2 separate regions of the Homo sapiens genome follow, and region 1 is linked to region 2. The links are contacts of gene promoters, found by promoter capture Hi-C in blood cells and fetal thymus (Javierre and others, 2016). All regions are on one chromosome and are shown on one strand. The core of a region is centred on a gene start or on the middle of the fragment in contact, and the rest is flanking DNA. Distances in the headings are between cores, read along the strand shown.

What was found. The method cuts DNA at HindIII sites, captures the fragments that hold promoters and counts their contacts. A CHiCAGO score of 5 or more calls a contact.
Region 1: a contact is called between a fragment that was not itself captured here and the fragment with the promoter of MMP7 in region 2, in 6 of 17 cell types (M1 macrophages, M2 macrophages, M0 macrophages and 3 more). The highest score is 13.1, in M1 macrophages.

The regions. Positions count from the first base shown.
Region 1 is chr11:102,656,762-102,662,749 of GRCh38, forward strand. All of the region lies in intron 1 of MMP20-AS1 (MMP20 antisense RNA 1), which reads left to right. Among named protein-coding and RNA genes, the nearest start is that of MMP20-AS1, 19 kb to the left of the region's middle. The HindIII fragment of the contact is 1,365 bases long and covers 1,809-3,173 here.
Region 2 is chr11:102,525,869-102,532,230 of GRCh38, forward strand. MMP7 (matrix metallopeptidase 7) reads right to left here and starts at 4,879. Exons shown (of 6, transcript NM_002423.5): 1 at 4,725-4,879; 2 at 1,889-2,115; 3 at 1,656-1,804. The coding sequence starts at 4,832. The HindIII fragment of the contact is 6,591 bases long and covers 4,464-6,362 here.

The DNA of each region.
Region 1 (5,988 bases), core at 1,241-3,740, 130 kb after region 2:
CAAGCTATGCCCATTGAGGGCTACAGTAATGCTTTTATGGATTAAGTTCTGAGAAGTATTGAGGGTGCTCTGGTTTCTTGGCTGTTGTAGCCTCCACGTCTGTTCTTTCATATTGCAAATATTCTATAAGCTACTCAAAATGTTTTATGTACATTCCCTTTCTGCTTTATGAGCCAGAGTTTCCTTCTAATCATTGCACCTAAGTACCCTGACTAATACAAATGAATCGGTTAATTTTATTAAAATGTAGATAATAAAGTGAAAGATATTGTCCAGAAAATAGAACTAGAGGTTAAAAATCAAAGGAAAAAGGATGAGAAAATTGGAGATCAAACAAGGAGAACAAACATCCAATGAAGGAAGTGATCCAGAAAGATAGAACTGAGAAAAAGTAAAGGAAGAAATTATCAAATAAATAATATAGGAAAATTTCTCTTTACTGAAGGCTGAAAGTTTCTAGACTGAAAGCGTCCACCAATTACCCAGATCAACAAATGCAAAAAAACCCACATCAAGTTATAGAGGAAAAAACAGGTCACAATCAAAGGATAGCAATTCAAATGGCTAAAATATAGGATTCTAGAAGATAGTAAAGAAATACCTTCAAAATTCTAAGGGGATGTGACTTCAACTTAGGTTTCCATACCCCGTAAATCAATCAATCAATCAATCAATCAAGATACATGAGAAGTCCAAAAACTAATTTTTCATGTATCTTTTCTCAGGAAGTTATTGCAGAACATGTTTTAGCAATTGATAGGGTAAAATGAAAAATAGACATTACTTCAAGGAATCAGGGGATCCAATACAGGAGAGAAGTGGAGGGGAAGTTTCAGTATAAACAGCTAAGCATCAGGGCAAGGAAGCTACCAGTTCTCCTTAGAGCTGGATGGACAGTTTCATCCTGAAAGAGAAAAATGATATAACTAAATTAAATGGTTGGCTAGCATTTGAGTTAAATAATTATTGATAGGTACACATCAAAACAGCTGCAGCATTTGAAAAAAACTTGGAATGGGCACAGAAAACCAAGCAGTGATAAATAAAGCAATCACTAACTATGCTTGTAATCAGTAGCAATGATAAATAAAGCAATCACTAACTATGCCTGTAAGTAGCTGGTATTCTGCTACTTGTGAGGCTGAGGCAGGAGAATCACTTGAATCCGGGAGGCGGAGGTTGTGGTGAGCTGAGATCACGCCATTGCACTCCAGCCTGGGCAACAAGAGCGAAACTCCATCTCAAAAAAAAAAAAAAAAAGAAAAGAAAAAGAAATACCAGAAAACTGTATGTGAATGGGAATGTAATAATAATAAACTATTTGACTTGGAAATAAACAATATTTACATAATAAAAATATAAACACTGTGATATAAGAGGAAGTGTAGGGAAGAAAGGAGGTGGAGGGTTGGTGGGAATGTAATAGAGCTAATATTAACAGAAGTCACTAGATAATGTATAAGATACATTAATTAGGAAATAAATGCACAAGCACATTATTTAGAGAAATGAAGTTGAATACCAGAAGACATAATTCATTATGTTTGCAGTAGTTATCTCTCGTTGTCAGACTGAGGCATAGTAAAAGACAGCTTTAAGTATTTTATTACTATTTGATTTAATTATTAAGGAAAATTGTAAATTGATTTGCATCACATGCACTGTTAACTTGAAGCCAACTGTAAAATGAAGCCAACTGTATGTATTGGTCATAAAGAGTGAAAACTATATTTATTTGTCCCATTGTACAAGCCTATTCCAGCTTCAATTCCTTCCGTCCTCCCTCTTTTCCTTTCCATTAAAACAGAAGCTTCCCTTGCCCTAGGTAAAGGGAGGTATCAATTGAAAGACAAAGAGTGATTAAAGTCATGTATTATTTGCTTTGGAGCTTCCAAGTCTGCAGGTCTTGATAATTTAGAGATTATTAATAAATAATTTTACCTGACTTGAGTATCACATTACTCATCAATTTTGCAACCTAATCCCAAATTATATTGTGAATTATTGAAACAAAAGATAATACATCTTTATCCTTATAATAATAGTTATATATTATTGAACGCTTGCCCCATGCTAGATCTGTTCTAGGTATTTTATGTATTTCATCTAATTTATTCCTCATAGAAACCCTATCAAGTAGGGCTATCATTAATCTCATATTTAGTGGAAACTGATACTCCATATTGTCCTTGGATTGTGGCTGGAAATATTCTCTGTTCTCTTTTGCTGATATCCAGTAACTTGAGATCATGCACTTAGATATACTTGAAAAGAGCGTATACACCCTACAAGTCTTATGATTGCCATTTTCTGTTCATGAAACCTTTTTCTGCAACATTCAGTGGTGCAGCTGCAGATCAGGGAGCCGGGGTGTAGGCAGAACGTCTTTCTGTAAGTTCCCGCTGGGCTCAAGCTCTAACTCATTTCGATTATGCTACAATAACTGGCATTAATGCTGTATTTCTTTGTCCCTTCTGAACCCATGGCTGCAGGATATTTTTTACAATGTGGCATTCGAGACAGCAGCTCCTCATCAAATGGAGTTGTCTCAATCTGTTTGCCTTCCTTGATGTATGAGGCCCTTATTAAATGTAATCCTTAGTTCTAAACAATAGTATTCTGGTGAGGTTTGGCTTTCTCCCACTCCCAGATAACTATACAGATTACAAAGTGCTTTCACATGTATTGTTTTATTTTATCAGTGTAGCAATTCTCTGGGCTACATTTATGCAGTATTTATTACATGCCAGGCCGTCTAAATTATGTAACCCCCCAATCATTCAAGGTGGACGTTGTTATACCCATTCTATTGATGGGAAAACAGGCTCAGAGAAGTGAAATGGCTTGCGAAGACAACCAGATGGTAAAGGACAGAACTTGGACTAAAACTTGGACTTCTAAAGCAAGTTCTCAGTTTCTTTCAAACACTGTAGATGCCCTTAGGTTTCCAACCATTGAAGTAAATTCCACTCCTTTAGCCAGTTGCCTGGTGGAATATTGTTGTTCAGCAGGAGTTTCACCCATCTTCGTGTGTGTGTGTGCGTGTGTGTGTGTTTGTGTGTGTGTGTGTGTGCAACATCTACTTCTTTTAGGACCTTGAAATGGACCTATTCAGCTGGCCAACCACGAAATCTAATGCCTTATAAGCACAATTATTTGTCTTATGAGACCTAAGCTTTCTACCTCTTGGAAAGACCTGTATATATATGTCATTGGAAAATAAATTCCCAACACTGCTGTTTCTTAACCTGTGTAATGATTCTGCTGACAGCTGCTGAGTGAGTATAACTAAAGGGTATATAGATACCAAACCTTACATTAACAAAGAATCAAGGTGAATACATGTGCAGACAACCTTTCTTAAATTTCTTGGACCCCATCTTTGCCTAGTATATCTGAAGCATTTGGATCCTTACTTGAAAGGTGTGTTTTAAAATGAAAACATGGTTATTATGTTTAATTTTCTGTCTCTCTCACCTCTAGGTTTTCTAGTCAAAGTAGATTTCAGGCACTTCTTCTGTTAAGATTGTAATTCTCCATTCTTTTTTTCTTTCATATATTTTTTTCTGCAAGTAGAACCTATCACACTATCTTATAGCTGTTTTTTTCTTTAAAATAAAAATTTATAAGACAGGCACATAAATATTAGAAGCAGTTATCTTGCGGTAGGAGTGCAGGGATTATGCATAGGTATTGTTCTTTTCTCTCTGTACTTTTTTTGTGTTTTGTAATTAGAAAAAAGTTACATAAAAATGTACTTTAGTAATCTCTCTAAGGCCATACTTTATTATTTGTTTATTTTTTTTTTTTTGAGACGGAGTCTTGCTCTGTCCCCCAGGCTGGAGTGCAGTGGCGCGATCTCAGCTCACTGCAAGCTCCGCCTCCCAGGTTCACACCATTCTCCTGCCTCAGCCTCCTGAGTAGCTGGGACTACAGGCGCCTGCCAGCACGCCTGGCTAATTTTTTGTATTTTTAGTAGAGACGGGGTGTCACCGTGTTAGCCAGTATGGTTTCGATCTCCTGACCTCATGATCCGCCCGCCTCAGCCTCCCAAAGTGCTGGGATTACAGTCGTGAGCCACCACGCCTGGCCACATTATTTTTTTTTCTTTCTTTTTTGACAAGGTTTTTTTCTGTCTCTCAGGCTGGAGTGCAATGGTGTTCCAACCTCACTGCAGCCTCAATCTCCCAGGCTAAATCTATCCTCCCACCTCAGCCTCCCTAGTAGCTGGGAGTACGGGAATGTGCTACCACACCTGGCTAAGTTTTTGGAAAAAAAATTATCTTTAGCAGAAACAAGGTCTTGATATGTTGCCCTGCCTGGTCCCCAACTCCTGGGCTCAATCGAATCTCCTGCCTTGGCCTCCCAAAGCGCTGGGATGACAGGTGTGAGCCACAGTGCCTGGCCTGAGGCATGCTTTTTAAAATGGTGATGAATATCTCCACAAAACACAGACATGTGAGGAAATAACAAAAATCAGATAAATTTTAAGGAAAAGCAAGGTATGCTCAGAGATATTTATCTTTTCAAATCTGATTTGAACTATACCTGTAACTACTCTGCCAATAAGATTTATTTTCTTCGAGTAGTTTGGAGGAAATTTTTGAGAAGCATTGGGTGAACGGGAAGTGCTCAAGAGATAACCTGATAGGAATGTTCTAAAGAGGATTTCTGTACTGAGAAGAGAGGGAATGATGAGCTCTGAGCTCCTTTTCAGGTCTAAGTTTTTCTAAAGGCCTTTATGGAAGGCAGGCTTTTATAAAAAAGTGGGGAGGAATCTTAGATTTCTAGTTTGGAGGTGGTTCTACTTCAAGAGAGGTTGTTTGTGTTAACTAGTATTTATTTATATAGCACTTTCTCTTCTTCTGTACAAGATCAGATCATAAATTGAATGATGCTTTTCAAGGGCAAAATACCCCTTCTCCAATTGCTACAGGAAATTCACCATGTTTCCCCACTTGTCCAAGACATAGATCAGCTCTCTAGTTGATGATTATGGAGTTCACACTTTATAGCTAAATTTCATATTTTTAGCTCAATTTTTGTTTGTTTGTTTTCTGGTCATGACCCATATACTTATATTCCCAGAGCACAGAAAAGCAAAAGTGCTTGTGTCAGTGGATTCCCCTGGTCTGCTACTGGTTCTACGATCCCCTGGAGGGACTCATAGGACTCAATGTATAGAATGTATAGTCCTATTCACAGCAAGTATTTATTGCAGTGAAAGGATTCAGATAAAAATTGGCAAAGGGAACAGGTGCATGTCCAGGGTAAGTTAGGTGCAAATTTCCAGGGGTCCTTTCTTAATGTAGTCACAGAGGACACTCTTAAATTTCTCAGTAATGAGTTGTGACAACAAGTGTGAAATGTTGTCCGTCAGGAAAGCCCGTTAGAGACTCAGTGCCCAGGTTTTTCATTGGGGTCTGGGGGCATGCCCTCTCTACCTGCCTCTGCCTGCCATGTACCCAAATTCCAGACTCCCAGAAGGAAAGCAGGTGTTCATTGTAAACCATATTTGCACAGTTTAGGTACAGTGAGCCATTCTTGCCAGTGAATGGTAGGAATCTTCTGAAATCTAAGTTTCCAGATGTCAGCCTAAAGGCCAACCTTGTAAGCAGGGCTTTCTAAGGATAGCAGTTTTCAAGTCTGCTATGTTAACTCTTTTCTGAACTGTGATCTTTCAGACGTTTTCTGAAAAAGGGATCTAGTCTTGCCAGAAGAGGAAGGGCCTCTGACTCTTCTTTTGTAGATTTTGGAGAGATCCTAAGCACTGAACAAACCTCCCTTCCTTTTAACAACAGAAAGAATAGGAAGAATTATACAGGGACAATCAGTAGGAGATTTTTTTTTTTAATCCTTCAAATGAGACCAAATAAGTAGAGGCTTGTCTGCATGGGCATAACAACTTGGTCCAAGTAAATAACCATAAAAGAGATCCTTTACCACAACCCAGTGTCTGCCTTAAGTATGTGTTGGAGCAAGAAAATA
Region 2 (6,362 bases), core at 3,629-6,128:
CCTTTAATGTGTGATGCAGAGCTGGTTATCTTCGAGGTGATATGAGGCCAGTCCAGTTTATCTAGCTCTTAAAAAACTTGTAGTGCCATGATTAGTGCTTTCCCATAACATTTTCTTCGGTGTTGTCAATATTGTGGGTTGAAGTTCAAATTTCAGCTACAGTAGCCGGACCATTCCACATAGAACAGACTGAAATGGGCAACATTTTTCTCTAAATTTGCACCATGAAACACTAGCAATTAAGAACAATTTATGTATATGGGTTTTATATATACATATATACACACACACACATATATAACACATATACTAAAAAAATGGGTTTTACATATAGAAAAACCCACGTAAAAAAAAAAAATATATATATATATATTTTTTTTTTTTCTTTTGAGACATAGTCTTGCTCTGTTGCCCAGGCTGGAATACAGTGGTGTGACCTTGGCTCATTGCAACCTCTGCCTCCCAGGTTCAAGCGATTCTCATGCTTCAGCCTCCCAAGCAGCTGGAATTACAGGCATGCGTCACCATGCTCAGCTAATTTTTGTTTTAGTAGAGATGGGGTTTCACCCTATTGGCCAGGCTGGTCTTGAACTCCTGACCGCAGATGATCCACCTGCCTTGGCCTCCCGAAGTGCTGGGATTACAGGCGTGAGCCACCACACCCTGCTGTGTTATATATTTTTAAGTTCTTTAATATGAAAGTTTCCATTTCCTACTTCCTTGCCACATGAAAGGCATTAGCAACAGGTCATATACCACTTCTCAGGGGACTCTTGAGGCCTTTGGAAGCTGCGACTCTTTCTGTTGATTTAATATCGATGTTAGGTAGATATATTGTAAACATATAGTCATGTGCTACATAATGATCTTTCAGTAAACAGATCACATATACAATGGTCCTATAAGATTATAATGGAGCTGAAAAATTCCTATAGCCTAGTGATATAGTAGTTGTGATAATGTCATAGCTCAATACATTACCTTTTCAATGTTTAAATACGTTTAGACACACAAATACTTGCCACTGTGTTACAGTTGCCTACCGTATTCAGTATAGTAACATGCTGTATAGATTTACAGCCTAGGAGCAATAGGCTATACTATGTAGCCTAGGTGGATAGTGGGCTGTATCACCTGGGTTTGTGTAAGTGTATTCTATGATGTTAGCACAGTGACAAGATTGCCAAAGTTCTCATTCTCAGAGTGTATTCCCATTGTTAAGCAGTGCATGACTGTATATATAAATAATAATTCACGTTACAAAACAGGGGTTGGCAAACTTTTTCTGTAAAGGGTCAGATAACAAGTGTTTAAGCTTTGTGATCTCTGTCACAGTTGCAGCCTGAGCCCAAACAGTCATAGGTAATAGGGAAATGAAGGAGCCTGACTGTGTTCCAGTAAAACTTTATTTACAAAAACAGAAGGTGGGCTGGATTTGGCTCATGCATCATAGTTTGCCAACTGCTGCTATAAAAAGTGGCTCTATATTACCAGATTATAAAAATTATAATAATATTGCTAAATCTATCTATTAACTATCTATCTACCAATCATATCTCATTAAAGGATTTTAATCTTCATAAGAAAAGAGCACTGATATAAACCATGAACAAACAAAACAGGACACAGGATTAGCCTACAGGAATCTTTCTTACCTCCTCGCGCAAAGCCAATCATGATGTCAGCAGTTCCCCATACAACTTTCCTGAAATGCAGGGGGATCTCTTTGCCCCACATGTTTAAAGCCTTTGACACTAATCGATCCACTGTAATATGCGGTAAGTCTCGAGTATATGATACGATCCTAGTAGCAAACAAGAAAACAATGTTTGACCCCTAGGAAACAGGCTTTATTGTTTTTGCCAAAATGAGCCAGAGCAAAACTAACCTGTAGGTGACCACTTTGGAAGTCCATTTTGGGCTATTTGGAAATAGTGAGTATTCTGCAACATCTGGCACTCCACATCTGGGCTTCTGCATTATTTCTATGACGCGGGAGTTTAACATTCCAGTTATAGGTAGGCCAAAGAATTTTTGCATCTCCTTGAGTTTGGCTTCTAAACTGTTGGCATTTTTTGTTTCTGAGTCATAGAGATAAAATCTCTTGAGATAGTCCTATTGAAAAGAGAGTAATTAATCTATAGTTCTTGTTTATTATATTCTTTTATCTTAGAAGCCTATATATCTCTTGCCTTTGGTTCCTGTGAATTCAAATAATGATTTGAAGACAGAATAATTACATAGTCACAGAGAAAAATAAGTGTGCATTAGTGAGGAGAAAATTTAATATTGCTAATGAAGCACTGGCGTGCCATTTCGTGAGCAAAAGAAAAGAATCCCTCAATTTTTAAAAAATCCATTTAAATGTTTTGGGGAGAATTACACTGTACACTTTATAAAGCCTAGAAGTGTGTAAGAGCAATCAGGAAGCATGTACCAGTCTGTCCTCAGGGGTACGACTGGGACATTCTCTGTGTTATCATAGACCCTGTGGGGGAGATCTGAGGTCAACCAGCCCTATCTAAAGTCCAGCTGAGATGCGGTTCCAGCTAAAAGTTAAAGGGTCTTAAAATTTTAGCTCTGGGAAAAGATATTAGGAAATTATTAAATAGTTCAATTTAATAATCCGGTGAAGGAACCAAAGCTTATAGCAACTAAATGATTTATGTGCCCAGGTTCACACCTTAAATTAGTAGCAGAACTGGACTTGACTTTCCTGACTCCTAGGTCCTCTTTTCCCTCTTTCTGCTCATTCCATTCCCAGCCCTTCTTTCTGCTGTTAAATCTCTAGTCAAACCCACTTTGGGAGATTGCAGTATACAGTAGGACTCCCAGGTTTATTCCATGCAAGGTTGGATTCCTGGGAATTTCTCTAAAGTTTCTCAGTATCTGAATATGAGGATAGGAATCCAGCAGCACAAATACAACAACAACAAAAGTGAATGAACTAACAACAATAGCAACCTCACAGGAACATTTTTAAGCACTTACTAGAGCCAGGCACTTACATATTTATTTTATGTAAACCTCATAACCACTCTATGAAACAAGTATGGCATTGTTATCCCTATTTTATACATGAAGAAACACAGCTCAGAGAAGTGAAATAAATTGCACAAGATCACCTTGTGAGTAACTGAAGGAACCAGTATTTGAACTCAAGTGTTCTGACTTCTATACATTAGAAACATGTGTAGGGTTATATGATGCCTGATAATATTGTTGTTAAAATGATTTAAACATTGGCTCACTAATTTGCAGTTTATTTGGAGTAGATGGTAATGGTTACCTGTCTTAGGACCGCCCAGGAATATGCAATTTATGTAAGAAATCTTATTAATATTGTGTCTTTTTTTCCTGTTACCAACAATTGTCTCATTAAATACAACAAATACTTATTGTTCATCCATGACAATTGATAACTGATCCTTTATTTAAAAACAAATAACCCATTTAATCCCTTCTAGAGCTACAGACTTTACCAAGACACCCTCTGGAAGAAATCTCTCTGCTTTGTTGAGATGACTTTTCCTGTTTTTTTGTTAAACCTAGCTAACATCCCTCCAAGTGAAGACTAAGTTTCTGCCAACCTTCACTCTAAGTAAAGAAACTAAACGCAGAGTACTCTTTCTGGAGAATTCATTAGGTGGAACCATATAAAACTACTGTTTTGGAGATTTTAAAAGTTAAATACTAGTAACTTTATGTGGTTCAATCTAACTTATTATAACTGGAACTTTTTAAAAGTCTAAGTTAATGTGAATTAAAAATTGACTTTTCTTATGCTTAAGGCCTAAATTTACAAATAATAGTTATAAGTAATCATCCCATTAGTTAACCAAATAATAATTAGTAGACTGCTTATATTTATTAGACTGCTTATTAAGAAGCATATTGCAAGGAACATGATTTTTGAACCAGAAGCACTTGTCCTTGATTTCTATCTCTACCACTAATAAGTACACTAATCAGTTTAACTTTGGTTTCCTCTTTTTATAGAACTAAGGATTAAATGACACAATGTCTATATAAGTACTTTATAATCTACAATTGTTACATACATGCTAGTTGGTTTTGTTATCACCTCATTTACTTACTAGAATACCCCATGAGGTATAAAACACATAATATTATTTTTTCTACTGGACACATGAGAAAACAAAGTCAGATGTTAATGCCTTGTCTATTGTCATTGACTTGTTGGAGAGTTGTAATTTCTACCCATGTTTTCTGACTTCAGATATCTCCATTACAAACAGTATTGTAAATACACAAACAGTATATTTACAGGTTGTATCTTAAGAGGCAATATTCTGTATACTATAGAAAAAGAATCTCAAGTTATAATAAATAAAAATAAGAACTTAATTTAAACAATGTTTCAGGTATTGTGTTGAATGCTTCACAACACCCTCATTTGGTTGATACCATTCTTATCTCCAACTTCCAAATTGGAAACCTGAAGCTTAGAGAAGTTTGATGACCTTCCTGAGTCTATCTACATAGTGAGTGGAGGGTTGGAACTCAAGCCCGATTTGAGCAGATTCTGAAACCTGCTTTTAATGGCTACTTGATGAAAACATATATTGCTTTTATAATCCGAAGAACCACCCCAAAGAAAATTCCACTGCAATGCTAACATGGGAAGGGAAATAATTGAAAAACACATTTCTTAATGCAGATGGCAAAAGAATGGAACCCTAAGTAAGTGGGCTGTGACATACCTGAGCCTGTTCCCACTGTAGCTCACTCATGCCTCCCGCCTCCTGAGGCAGCGGCAGGGCCAGGCTGCCAGGCAGCAGGCACACAGCACACAGCACGGTGAGTCGCATAGCTGCCGTCCAGAGACAATTGTTCTTGGACCTATGGTTGATTTGGTGTTTTCTGCTAGTGACTGCAGAAATTTATATAGCTTCTCAGCCTCGAATGTGGAAATAGGTGACTCATTTGAGTGTTTTCTTTCTTTTTAGAGTCTACAGAACTTTGAAAGTATGTGTTATTTTTCATTAACTAAAACGAGGAAGTATTACATCGTTATTGGCAGGAAGCACACAATGTATTTGTCTTTCAAAGGATTTTTTTTTCTGTCTGCTGCATAAATTGACTCCATGAGAAACCTCATTTTTTTGCCAAAGTCAAATGACTGCTCTCATAGGTATCATTCAGGACATTATGGTACCATATATTCTTAAAGAATAATATATATTCTTAAATATATATTCTTATTATATGGTACCATGTATTCTTAAATACATGGTACCATATATTCTTAACAATTAAAAGGTTTGGAAAAGTGCACAAAACATGTAAATAATGAAATAATAATTAAGCAAATACTGTAACCGTCACCAAAGTCAAGAAATAGAACATCACCAAAATCCTGTGGTTCTCCATACAGGGGAAAGATGGCAGGAGGCAGATGGAAATGCTGCTGTGTGGCTGGATTAGTGGCCACTCTATATACAACTGTGCTGTGTCCCCTCACCTTCCACGTCCCTTAGCAGAGCAGTGATAATTCCCTTCTTTGGGTCTCCTTTTAATCAGTTTATGTCTTTTCTTAATGGGGAACACTGCCTCTAATTCTTCTTGAATTAAACACAAAAAAATACCAAGCCAACAAAAATCTACAAGCACGGGTTTAACTCTTCATCTGGCTTACTTATTCTGCTTCTCATTTTATAGTAACAGATTCTTCCAAGGCTAGACCTTCAACTTGGAGATCCAATTTTTTTCTTCCAATCACTCTGACTCTGGCTGCTGCCCAGCTACAGGTAGGGCTGCATTGGTCCTTAGTACACAAAATGGTTATTCTACGTATAGCAGTAAGAATCCATTACCTACAGATTCTAGCCCAATGACTCCATTCTTACCAAAAATGAAAGTGAGGCCAAGATGATAATTTAACTTATTATACTTCTCCCAGCTCACACAGATAGTAGCTCAGTGCTTTTTCTATCCCACTGCACTGCCTATTCATTTTGTAATAGGTCTGTCTCTTTTATTATATTATACATTACTTGGGAGAACACCATGGCTTTTGACTCTAATACATCATGGGAAACACTCCAAATATGCTGGAGCTAAAAAATTTAATTAATCACATATCACTTCAATTACATGGTAATTGAGCACTGTGAGCCAGCAAAGGTAAAATTTTCAGATCAGTTAATTAAATTTGCTCTCTTTACAGAGATGTCTTGATTCTGTACGGTCACAGTTTAACTAGAGTAATTGGTATCCTTAGTCAGAGTTTGACATGTGATAAGGTGCACCATAAATATTTGTAGAATAATGAATATTTATGAACTTTACTTGAATAAGCTAAAAATGGAATTATATCACGTTTTTGGTAATATTTGCAT